Regions from separate parts of the Homo sapiens genome. Here region 1 is linked to region 2. The links are contacts of gene promoters, found by promoter capture Hi-C in human tissues and cell types (Jung and others, 2019). All regions are on one chromosome and are shown on one strand. Each heading gives the region's core, a stretch centred on a gene start or on the middle of the fragment in contact. The rest is flanking DNA. Distances are from core to core; before and after follow the strand shown. Region 1 has its middle 300 kb from the start of KCNK9. Region 2 holds the start of AGO2 (argonaute RISC catalytic component 2).

Evidence for each region. Contacts are between HindIII fragments. The study calls those that stand out against the background at their distance.
Region 1: a contact is called between a fragment that was not itself captured here and the fragment with the promoter of AGO2 in region 2, in 1 of the 25 tissues and cell types used here (lymphoblastoid cells).

What each region holds. Positions count from the first base shown.
Region 1 is chr8:139,403,830-139,408,775 of GRCh38, reverse strand. No RefSeq gene overlaps it. Among named protein-coding and RNA genes, the nearest start is that of KCNK9, 300 kb to the left of the region's middle. RefSeq lists a silencer at 2,748-2,857 and an enhancer at 3,477-4,125. The HindIII fragment of the contact is 4,778 bases long and covers 813-4,946 here.
Region 2 is chr8:140,632,503-140,637,309 of GRCh38, reverse strand. It overlaps AGO2 (argonaute RISC catalytic component 2), which reads left to right and starts at 1,677. Exons shown (of 19, transcript NM_012154.5): 1 at 1,677-1,825. The coding sequence starts at 1,804. It overlaps ERICD (E2F1-regulated inhibitor of cell death), which reads right to left and starts at 3,075. Exons shown (of 1, transcript NR_170171.1): 1 at 1-3,075. RefSeq lists silencers at 1,113-1,512, 2,163-2,332, 2,816-2,865 and enhancers at 2,672-3,438, 3,439-4,206. The HindIII fragment of the contact is 25,430 bases long and covers 1-3,259 here.

The DNA.
Region 1 (4,946 bases), core at 1,952-4,451, 1.2 Mb after region 2:
ATACAAAGGAAGGTTCTGTTCTATCTGTTTCATTTTTTAACATATGAAACAATGTATATACCCACAAATACAGATGTTTGGTAAAGGTGGCTGATGGACACGAGTTTATTATATTATTATTTTCTATATTTATGTTTAAAATTTTATAAGTTAAAATATTGATATATACTCATGATTCTTTTTTTTTTTTTTTTTTTTTTTTTTTTTGAGATGGAGTCTCACTCTGTTGCCAGGCTGGAGTGCAGTGGCGCGATCTCGGCTCACTGCAACCTCCGACTCCGTGGTTCAAGAGATTCTCCTGCCTCAGCCTCCCGAGTAGCTGGGATTATAGGCACATGCCACAACACCCAGCTAATTTTTGTATTTTTAGTAGAGATGGGATTTCACCATGTTGGCCAGGCTGGTCTCGACCTCCTGACTTCGTGATCTGCCTGCCTTGGCCTCCCAAAGTGCTGGGATTACAGGCATGAGCCACCGCACCCGGCCTATACTTATGATTCTAAAATATCAAAAACATAAGAGTTGATGTAGTAGAAAGTGAGATTTCCTCCTTCTGATTCCTAATCCCAGTTCCTCTCTTCAGTTCCTTGTATCTTTTCTATCTTTTTATCTTTTTTTTTTTTTTTGAGACGGAGTTTTGCTCTTGTAGCCCAGGCTGAAGTGCAATGGTGCAAAGGATCTTGGCTCACTGCAACCTCTGCCTCCTGGGTTCAAGCGGTTCTCCTGCCTCAGCCTTCCAAGTAGCTGGGACTACAGGCACCCACCACCACGCCTGGCTAATTTTTGTATTTTTAGTAGAGATGGGGTTTCTCCATGTTTTGGCCAGGCTGGTCTTGAATTCCTGACCTCAGGTGATCCGCCCACCTTGGTCTCCCAAAGTGCTGGGATTACAGGCGTGAGCCACCGCACCTAGCCAGTTCTTGTATCTTTTCAGGAGTATTCTCTCTATATAAGCAACTATGTGGTTGCATATTTATATATGCTCACCTTTACTTACAAAATAAATCACGCTATATGAATCGTTTCTCACCTCAATGCTTTTCTAAATATTTTATTTATTCCATTACAATTTTCTACAACACTTAGCCAGGCAGAATAAACACACTCAATCACCCCAGGCTGCCTTGTTCTTGAGTAACATCTACTTTGCTCTTGGGACCACTTCAAATTCTGGCCTTTACCTCTTTCTTCAGTCCCTTCACTCCTTCTCATCCCCCATCTCTAGGTTACTCACCACCAGTCCTCCCTACATGCCATCACTAAATAATGATACCTAAGATAAAGCCTTCAGATATCTTAAAAGGGAGTCAGACTGCCTGGATTTGATGCCTGGGTCTACCGCTTCCTAGTGGGTAATCTTGGGCAACTCCTGTAATCTCTCTGCACCCAGACTCTCCTTGTTTTTAAAACAGGGATAACAATACACATCCCAAATTATTAAATGAGATAATATAGGTAAGTGCTTAGAAGACAGAGTTGACAAGTGGGACTTAAGCTGTAGTCTGATCTATCTATCTATCTATCTATCTATCTATCTATCTATCTATCTATCTATCATCTATCTATCTATCTATCATCATCTATCTATCATCTATCTATCAATCACATATCTCGATTTATCCATGTTTGTCCTTCTACACTGCCTACTTAATAAAACCTGTAGGCTGCCCACCTTACCACCCACATATGACTGTCTGCTGCCTCTCCAGCTTGAGCTCCTCGGCTCACTGTGGTTGGCCCTCTGCCCTCACTAGTGTTGTTCTAGAAAAGCTGTCCATTCCTTCCCCTCCCCAGACCCATCTTGCCTGACATCTGTGCTGCACTGGACTCTTTGCCAGCTACTTTCTCCTTGAAAACCCAGCTCTCCTGGCATCTGGGTTGTTGCTCTCCCCTGTTGTTCCTATACCTGCCTGGCCTCCTTTATATTCTCCACCAGGGGCTGCTCCTCTCATGCCTTAACACCCTTAAAATGTCAGCATCGCCTGCAATTTCTTCTTCAGTCCTTTTCCATTCTGAAGCTGTTTGGAGTGCATGCTTACTCTTTTGTCTGGTTATTTCCTGGGGGGACCTCATGCATCCCTCTTGGTATAGTTTCTTCCACTACACTGTTGATTCTCAGATCCCAATATCTCCATCCTCACTCAGGCAGGGGGCCCCAGACTTGTCTGCCTCCTGGGGTTCCTCCTCTCCCTGCAAACCTCCGCTTTCATGTCTGGTGTCCATGAATGGCCTTGCCATCCTCCTCTCCTTACATCCAATCTGTAACCACAGTCTCTTGATTAAATCTTTAAATATAATGAAAATAATCACTCTAACAAGGTTTAGTGAGTAGGCATTATTTATCAAGAATTGTGCTAAGCATTTTATATAGCTTATTCCTCTTAATTGGCATGGGAGCTCTGTAATGTGGACACTGTTACCTCCTCGCAATTTTTCAGGCCTGGATAGTGAGGTTAAGTAATTTGTTGCATGGCTGCAAAGAAATGGCACCCCCTAATAAGGCACCCTCTGCATTCCCATTGCCTGCATCCTCCCTGAAGACAGAACAAGCTTCCTAAAACACATCAAATGCATCACTTCCCAGGCTGAAAACCACTCAGGGGCTTCCCATCAGCTCTAGAGTAACACCCAGCTTCTTTGCATGACATACGTTCCTTGTGATCTGCGTCCTACCTACCTATTTACTGTCAGATTTTGCTAATGATGGTGGAGTCTTGGGCTCGCTTGCATTTCTGGCACCCAGCAATTCCTTCCCAGGTGGTGCTTGCTCCAGGCTCTTGCTCCAGCAACTCAGTACAGTAGGGTAACAGCACCTGAGAAGCTCTTTGCTGCCCCCTACTGGCACTCATAAACCACCGGTGAGAACCATGAAGGTGGATCTGTGAACGGTTGTTCGGCGGGACTCCCGTGACTTCAGACATGGTTTCTGTGGATTTTATACAGAGCTCCTGTTGTGAACGCTGTGTATCCACAGCATTAATGGCTCTTCATCATTAAAGGGTCAGCATGCAAGGGTGTATTTCACCAGCTGCCGGGAGGCGGGTGGCTAACAGTTCTCCACCCTTAGCCCCTTTTGGGACCGCCTCCGCTGAAGAGAGCTACCTGGCTGTGCGTCTTATCTCCCACCTTCCAGGGCGACTCAACCCAGTGGTTGCTCAAGGAGCTGTATAGAGCTCCGGCTCCCTCCTTTCAACTCAGGCCAATTCTGAAGGGTGGCCTCAGCTTCAGAGCTTCCATTAATCGCCACTGAGGCCTTGCCGTGACTTACAGCCTGACCTGCGTCCTATCCTCGCCCTAGGTGATGGCCCTGAGAACTCTCGCCGGTAAGTCTCCTCACCTGTTTCCACCTGAGCCCGCTTCTGCTTCCAGGAGCTGGACCTAAGCAGCCGCCTGGAGGCAACTGGCTGGTGCTCATCACTCCCCGACTGGAATCAGAGCCCCAGGGGTGGAGCCTCCAGAACTTGCATTTCTGGTCTGCATCTCTGAGTTCAGGAAGTTTTGCAGCAAGCTTAGAAAGGAGAAAGCATGGGCGCCCTGGAAGCCAGACCTGGGGCCCAATTCCAGTTCCACTATGGCCCGGTGACTCCAGGAAAGTCACTTAACCACCAATGCTTGCTTCTCATCTGAATATCGGGATTCCTTAAGATTTACCTCAGAAGACTGTTGTAAAGTTTGAATAAGATAAATCTTGCTAATCATATATGTTTAAAAGCTTAGCACTGTGCCACCCACAGAGCAAGTAGTCAGTGAGCGCCGGCCTTCTGCCCTCTTGACAGGTAGAGCTGTTGGTGAATAACCAGTGTGATCTGAGCATTGTAAAGTGCTGCACAACAAAACCCTCTCATCCCATAAGACCTGAACTCAGACTGCTTACAATTCTTTTATTTGGCTCAGGGCATTGTCTTCCACCCTTGTTAACATGCACATGCCCTCTGGGCAAGTTCAATTGTCACTCAAGAAGTTCCTAAATCTGCTGAGTCTTGGCACTATAGCCACAGCCTGTTCTCCAGCTGTCAGTTCTCCACTGTCAGTTCTCCACCTTTTCTCCACTATAGCCACAGTGAGTCTCTCTCCAGGGAGTTGAGATCAAAACGCACCGAATGGTTGGGGTGGAGGGGGGCTATGAACTCTCCAGGGTGTGGGCCTGGGGAAAGCTAAGGGACAGGAGGTGAGACAAATACATGCCTGCAGCCAGAGTTCTGCACCTGCTCTGTTGCTCCTGGGTCCTGTTCCTGCAAACACCTGGCTGCTACTTTTTAAACATCTTCCCGTTCCATTTCTCCCCGGCTCCCTGGACACTGACCAAGTCACTTCCGGGAGACTCTGTGGTCCAGATTAAATTCTGAGAAAATGACTTCAGTATGTAGAGTATCATCATCCCCTTGGAAAAAGAAGTTGGCAAAGGAATGCCGGGCTGCCTCCCACTGCTCGGTGATCTGTGCCTGGTCTCATTTTCCATCCCGAGATGATGTCTCCACCCCTCCCTGAGGTCCCAGCTGACCAGCCCTTCCCCCACCTGACAGTGTAACTGATCCTCCTGTGCGGAATGCCCAACCTGGAGGTGCTGACCCTCCTGTGAGGGATGCCCAACCTGGAGTTGCTGCTCTCTCTTCTGCCCACATCACTCTGCTTCTGCACTGGGATAAAGATGCAGAACATGGTGGGCTTTCTTCACAGTGCTGGCCCACGTCATTAGTCCTCCCTGACCCCAGTAGAAGAAATATTCATTTGTTTTTTTTGAGACAGAGTCTTGCTCTGACACCCAGGCTGGAGTTGCAGTGGCGTTATCTTGGCTCACTGCACTGTAACCTCTGCCTTCCAGGTTCAAACAATTCTCATGCCTCAGCCTCCTGAGTAGCAAGGACCACAGGCACATGCCACAATTCTTGGTTATTTTTTTTTTTATTATTTTTAGTAGAGATGGGGTTTCACTATGTTGGCCAGAC
Region 2 (4,807 bases), core at 428-2,927:
TGTGAAGGAGACAGGGGCAGAGAGAGAGGGTGGGCATCTGCGAACTGGGAAGATTGATGAGGTTGCATGGTTCATAAATAGGAAAGTGGTAACATTCATGATTATTTAAAAATTTCCGTGAAATACTACAGTAAAGGTACAGAAAAGCATATAAAGTAAAAGTGCAGTTTAAGGGATGGCTGCCAAAGGGCACCATTGCAGGAAGGAACAGGCCTGGCACCCCCAAATCCCCCAGGGGCCCTGCTGTGGTCACAGCCCTCTCACCCCCAGCTGTATCCACCATTCTGACACTTAGAGTAAGCACCTTCTTGCCCTTCTGTCAATTATTTACTACTTAATGATGCTTCCCTAAAGAATGCAGTTTAATTTTGCCTGTTTTGGAATTTTTGTGAATGGCTAGATTCCATCCTGTGAATATGAGCACACTGTTTCTCCATCCTGCTCTCCGTGGGTATTCAGTGCCATGCAGTCCAAGCGGTGATGAAGAATGCCATGCACACTCCTACCCAGGTTTCCTGGTGTTCATTACTACACATTTCAGGAGCACGTTTTGTATCGGCAACTTGGTGAAGACTGATGTCCTTTTGAGTTTTCGGAGGAAGTGCTGGTTCTCCTGCCCTTCTTCAGGGCTGTCCTCCGAGACTGCAGAGAACTAGTGACCACCCTGCTGGCTGCGGAGCTCCTGTCAGTCAGAACTCCTGTTTATTCTCCGCCCGGAACAGGGCCTTGCACCCATATGCAGACAGCCGATGCCACGGGGTGAAGGAATGCTCCGGGAAATCTGGGAAAAGGCGACCAGGCACTTTAGATTGTGGGTCAACCTCTGCCTTCTAATCCTCCATCACTTAGGGGAGAAAGGAGGTAGCCACAGGCTGGCTTTTCCAGGAAAGCCTCCGAAAACCAGACGGACCCAGAGGGACCGGACAGAAACGCTCGGAGGTGCACGACGGTCCGAGCAGGCCCCTGACTGCTGGAATGGGCGTGTCCGCTGATCTGATCCCTGATACCAGCTACAGTTTACTAAAAACTTCTTAGATTTTCTCAGTGCTTTAAACGGATTATCTGGGTTCTGGGGCCGCGCCGGGAGGTGGCGGTGTGGTCCTGCGCGAGCGGCCGGCCGCGTTCAAGTTCAAGCTCCGGGCTGGGAGGGAGCTTCCCGACCTCCGTGTTTCTGTAGTAACTTAAAGAGCCAGGCTGGGGGCCGAGGGGCTGAGGGTGGGAGGGTTCTGCGCCCCCCACCGGGGGGCGGCGGGGAAAGCGGGGGCGCGTGGCCTCCCCTCCGGCTCCGGCGGCACAGCCGGGGGGCCCGGCTCCTCCCCGTCGGGAAGACGCGGCTTCTCTGGGTGGCAGTGAAGGGTCCCCGGGGCCGCGCCCGCCCCCGCGCCACACGGGCCGCGCCGCCCTCGGCCCTCGTCCCCGCTCCCGCCCGCGGTTCCCACCGCCCGGCGAGGTCTCCGGGCCCCTCCCCGGGTCCCCGCCCCAGGCCCCGCCAGACCCGGCGCCGCCGCCGCCGCCGCCGCGGACCCCGCCCGCGCGCCCAGCCCCGCTCCCCCCGCGAGCGCGCTCCCGCCGCCGGCCTCGCCTCCCCTCCCCCTCCCTCCTCCTTCCTCCCCCGCCCCTCCCGCTCCCGCTCCCGCCGCCGCCTCCGCCCGCCGCCCCGGCCGCGTCGGGTAAACCTGTTTGGCGAGGCGGCCGCGCCGGGGCGGATCGTGCGGCCGGCGGCTCCCTCGCGGCTCGCGGCGTCGGGGCCCGTGGCGCGCGCGCGGCCGCCCCTCGGCCCCGGAGCCCCTCGGCGGCGCCACCATGTACTCGGGAGCCGGCCCCGGTGAGTCCTGGCGCTCGGGGCGCCCGCCCGGCCGTTCGCGCGCTCCTGCCCGTGGTTGGCGGGCCCGGCGCGGGCGGCAGGGGCCGGGGATCGGGGGGCCGCGGGGTCGGGGCGGCGGGGGCCGGGGGCGGGCGAGCCGGGGCCGCGCTTGGGGGCTCGAGGAGCGGCGGCGGCGGGGCCGAGCCGGCCGTTTTCTCGGCCCCGCGTTGGACGCGCAGCCCCGGCCTCCTCGGCCCCCGCGAGTCGTCGGGGCGCCCCGCGCGGCCTGGGCCCCTCCCGCGCCTCGGGCCCGCGTCCCAGCGTCCTCGCATCCCCCGCCCGGGGCCCGCGGGCTGGGGCCGGGGCCGAGGCGGCCGCCGCGTGTAGGCCCGAGGCCCGGAGCGCCCCGCTTGGCCCGGCCTCGCTGCCCGGGCGGGGATGGGGGCGCCGCAGCCCGGCCCGGCCTGACCCTGAGCGCCTGAGCGGGTGGAGGCCGGGTCGGGGCGCCCGGCTCGGGGCGCGCACGGGCGGGAGGGGAGGGGGCTGCGCCGGTCCCGACCCCAGCCGCGGTGAGTCTGTGGCGCGCTCCGTTGTGGCCCTTCTTGTTGCCGGCACTTCTTCGGCCCCTTTTCCCAAGGAAAGTCTGGAAATGCTGAATTTTGGCCAATTCCTGTAGTTAGGGCTGTCGCCTGGAAAGGGGAGGACGCGGCTCCCCGGAACCCTCAAACTGCGTGCGCGGCTCGTTCTCATTCCAGACACGCCGGCCTCCCCATTCAAGTGCTAATTCCTTTTACAATTTCCTAGGAGAGGTGAGGCGAGGTGGATTCCTGTAGCACCCCTTGTTGCTAGTCGGCCTTTCTCTGGAAAAGTTCTAAAAAACTTAAAGCGGTAACGCGTTGTTTTTCTTTTTAAATGCAGAGTAGAAGGCGGTCTCCTTGGTGGGCCAAAAAAACGGTCAGGTGTTCTCCTGCTTTTGGCGTGCTCCCACCGGGCACGTGGCTCCTGGCTCTCTCGGCCGGCCTGGCCGCTGGGACGGGGCACCGCCTGCTCCCCTTTGTCCGCTGGGCCCCAGCCGGGCCGCAGGCGGCGCAGGCCCCGCCGGGCTCTGGGCTTATGTTTACCCGGCCGGGCGAGGAGGCTCGCATTCCCGATGCTGCCCTCGTTGCTGCAGACCGGCCCCAAATTGTGGGGTCCGGAAGGCCCCCTGGCCCACCTTGGTCCGTTGATGGTGGCCCCCACTGCTGGAGCTGTTGGCTCTGTGCCTTGCGAATGTCGCGTCTTTTTTCTGATGTCATTTAGAAAGCTTCAACAAGGCGGAGTCTGACCAACTTTTCAACCCCTGAGGGCCATCAGCAGTTTGAAGAATGATTTTCCCCCTCCACCTGGGAGGGGCCGCAGTCCTGGAGCAGGTGCTGGCCTCTAGAGGCCTTGGGTGGCCAGGCCCCCTCTTGGGAAAGGACCGGGCATCCCCTTGTGAGTTGGGACCTTCCAGCTCCTCTTTGTAGAGGAACCCAGCTTATGGGACTGACAGCACTACATTTTTTCAGGTTATCGGTTTTAAAAGTTGGAGGCCCAGAAAAAGTGAAGAGGCTTTAAGGAAGGTCAAGCTTTCTGTGTTGTGTTTTGCGTGTTACTTAATTCACTCCACTTGCTGAGGTTGGTGGTGTTTGTGAAGACAGACAGCCGAGGCTCACAGAGGTTGAGAACTTCACCAAGGTCACACAGCAGTGAGTGAGTATCAGGACAATCGGTCCGACTTCCGAGCTGGTTCTCTGGGTGCCTTCCTCAGGGCAGTCCCTTTCAAGCCCTATAACCCAGACCCACAGTAAGAAGTCTCTGTTAGGGCTGGACTGGACCAGCACCTGCCCGCATACTTGTCATTGACAGCGGGGCTTCAGGAAGCCACCCCAGCTCACTGCTGTACTGTGTGCACTGCCCCGGGATGCTGTCTTGTCGATTTCATTTTTCAGCGTACCTTGGCCCTCATGATCCACAGGCTCGTTTCTGTCACTCGCTGCTTTTTGGAGATTGTTGCCTTGGTGTGGGCCTGGTAGGGAGTGGACCCTCTGGAACAGGACAGTGGTTGAAAGAATAAATGTGTCTGCAGGATAATTCATAGCTAATGGCAGGATGGGAATGAACCCAAGTTTCAGGTTGTACAAACGTGCTGTAATTATAAGTCTGTGGTGCAGTTCCATTTTATGCTACACATTAAGGCTTTTAATTTTGTGTAAAAGGAATTTTTGGAATAGTCTTCATTGAGACTCTTTTTAATCTTATACTTTCTAATTTAGAATTATAAGACATTCAATTTGAATTATAGAAAAATTACATTGGGAGGCCAAGGCGGGCGGATCACGAGGTCAAGAGATCGAGACCATCCTGGCCAACATCATGAAACCCCGTCTCTACTAAAAATACAAAAATTAGCTGGGCGTGGTGGTGCACGCCTGTAGTCCCAGCTACTCGGGAGGCTGAGGCAGGAGAATCGCTTGAACCCTTGAGGCAGAGGTTGCAGTGAGCCAAGATTGCGCCACTGCACTCCAGCCTGGGGACAGAGTGAGACTTGGAGACTCCATCTCAAGAAAAAAAAAAAAAAGAAAAGAAAAATTACAAATAGTTTTGCTACTTCCAATTGTAACACCCTTATTAGGCAACTTACTAATTTAAAAAGCAGTTCACAATAGCTCTACATTATACCAATCACAAACAAATGCTGTGACGTATGTGAATGCTATTTAGAATCTGAAGTTAGAAATGTTACTATTTTTTCGTTTTTTGAACTGAGTTAGTTGTTTAAGATGGGTGGATTCTCCAATGACCTTGAACCTTCACTGATGAACAAATTAGTTTTTTGGTTTTTTAACCATTTAAAGGTCTTGATCTGTGTCTAGTGATTGCCTGCCCCCAGGATATTGTCTCTTATGGTTTTGCTACACTTTCAAGCTCCCGTGTGTTACACCCCTCGCAGATTTGCCACAAAGTAACCTCTGTGACATCTAA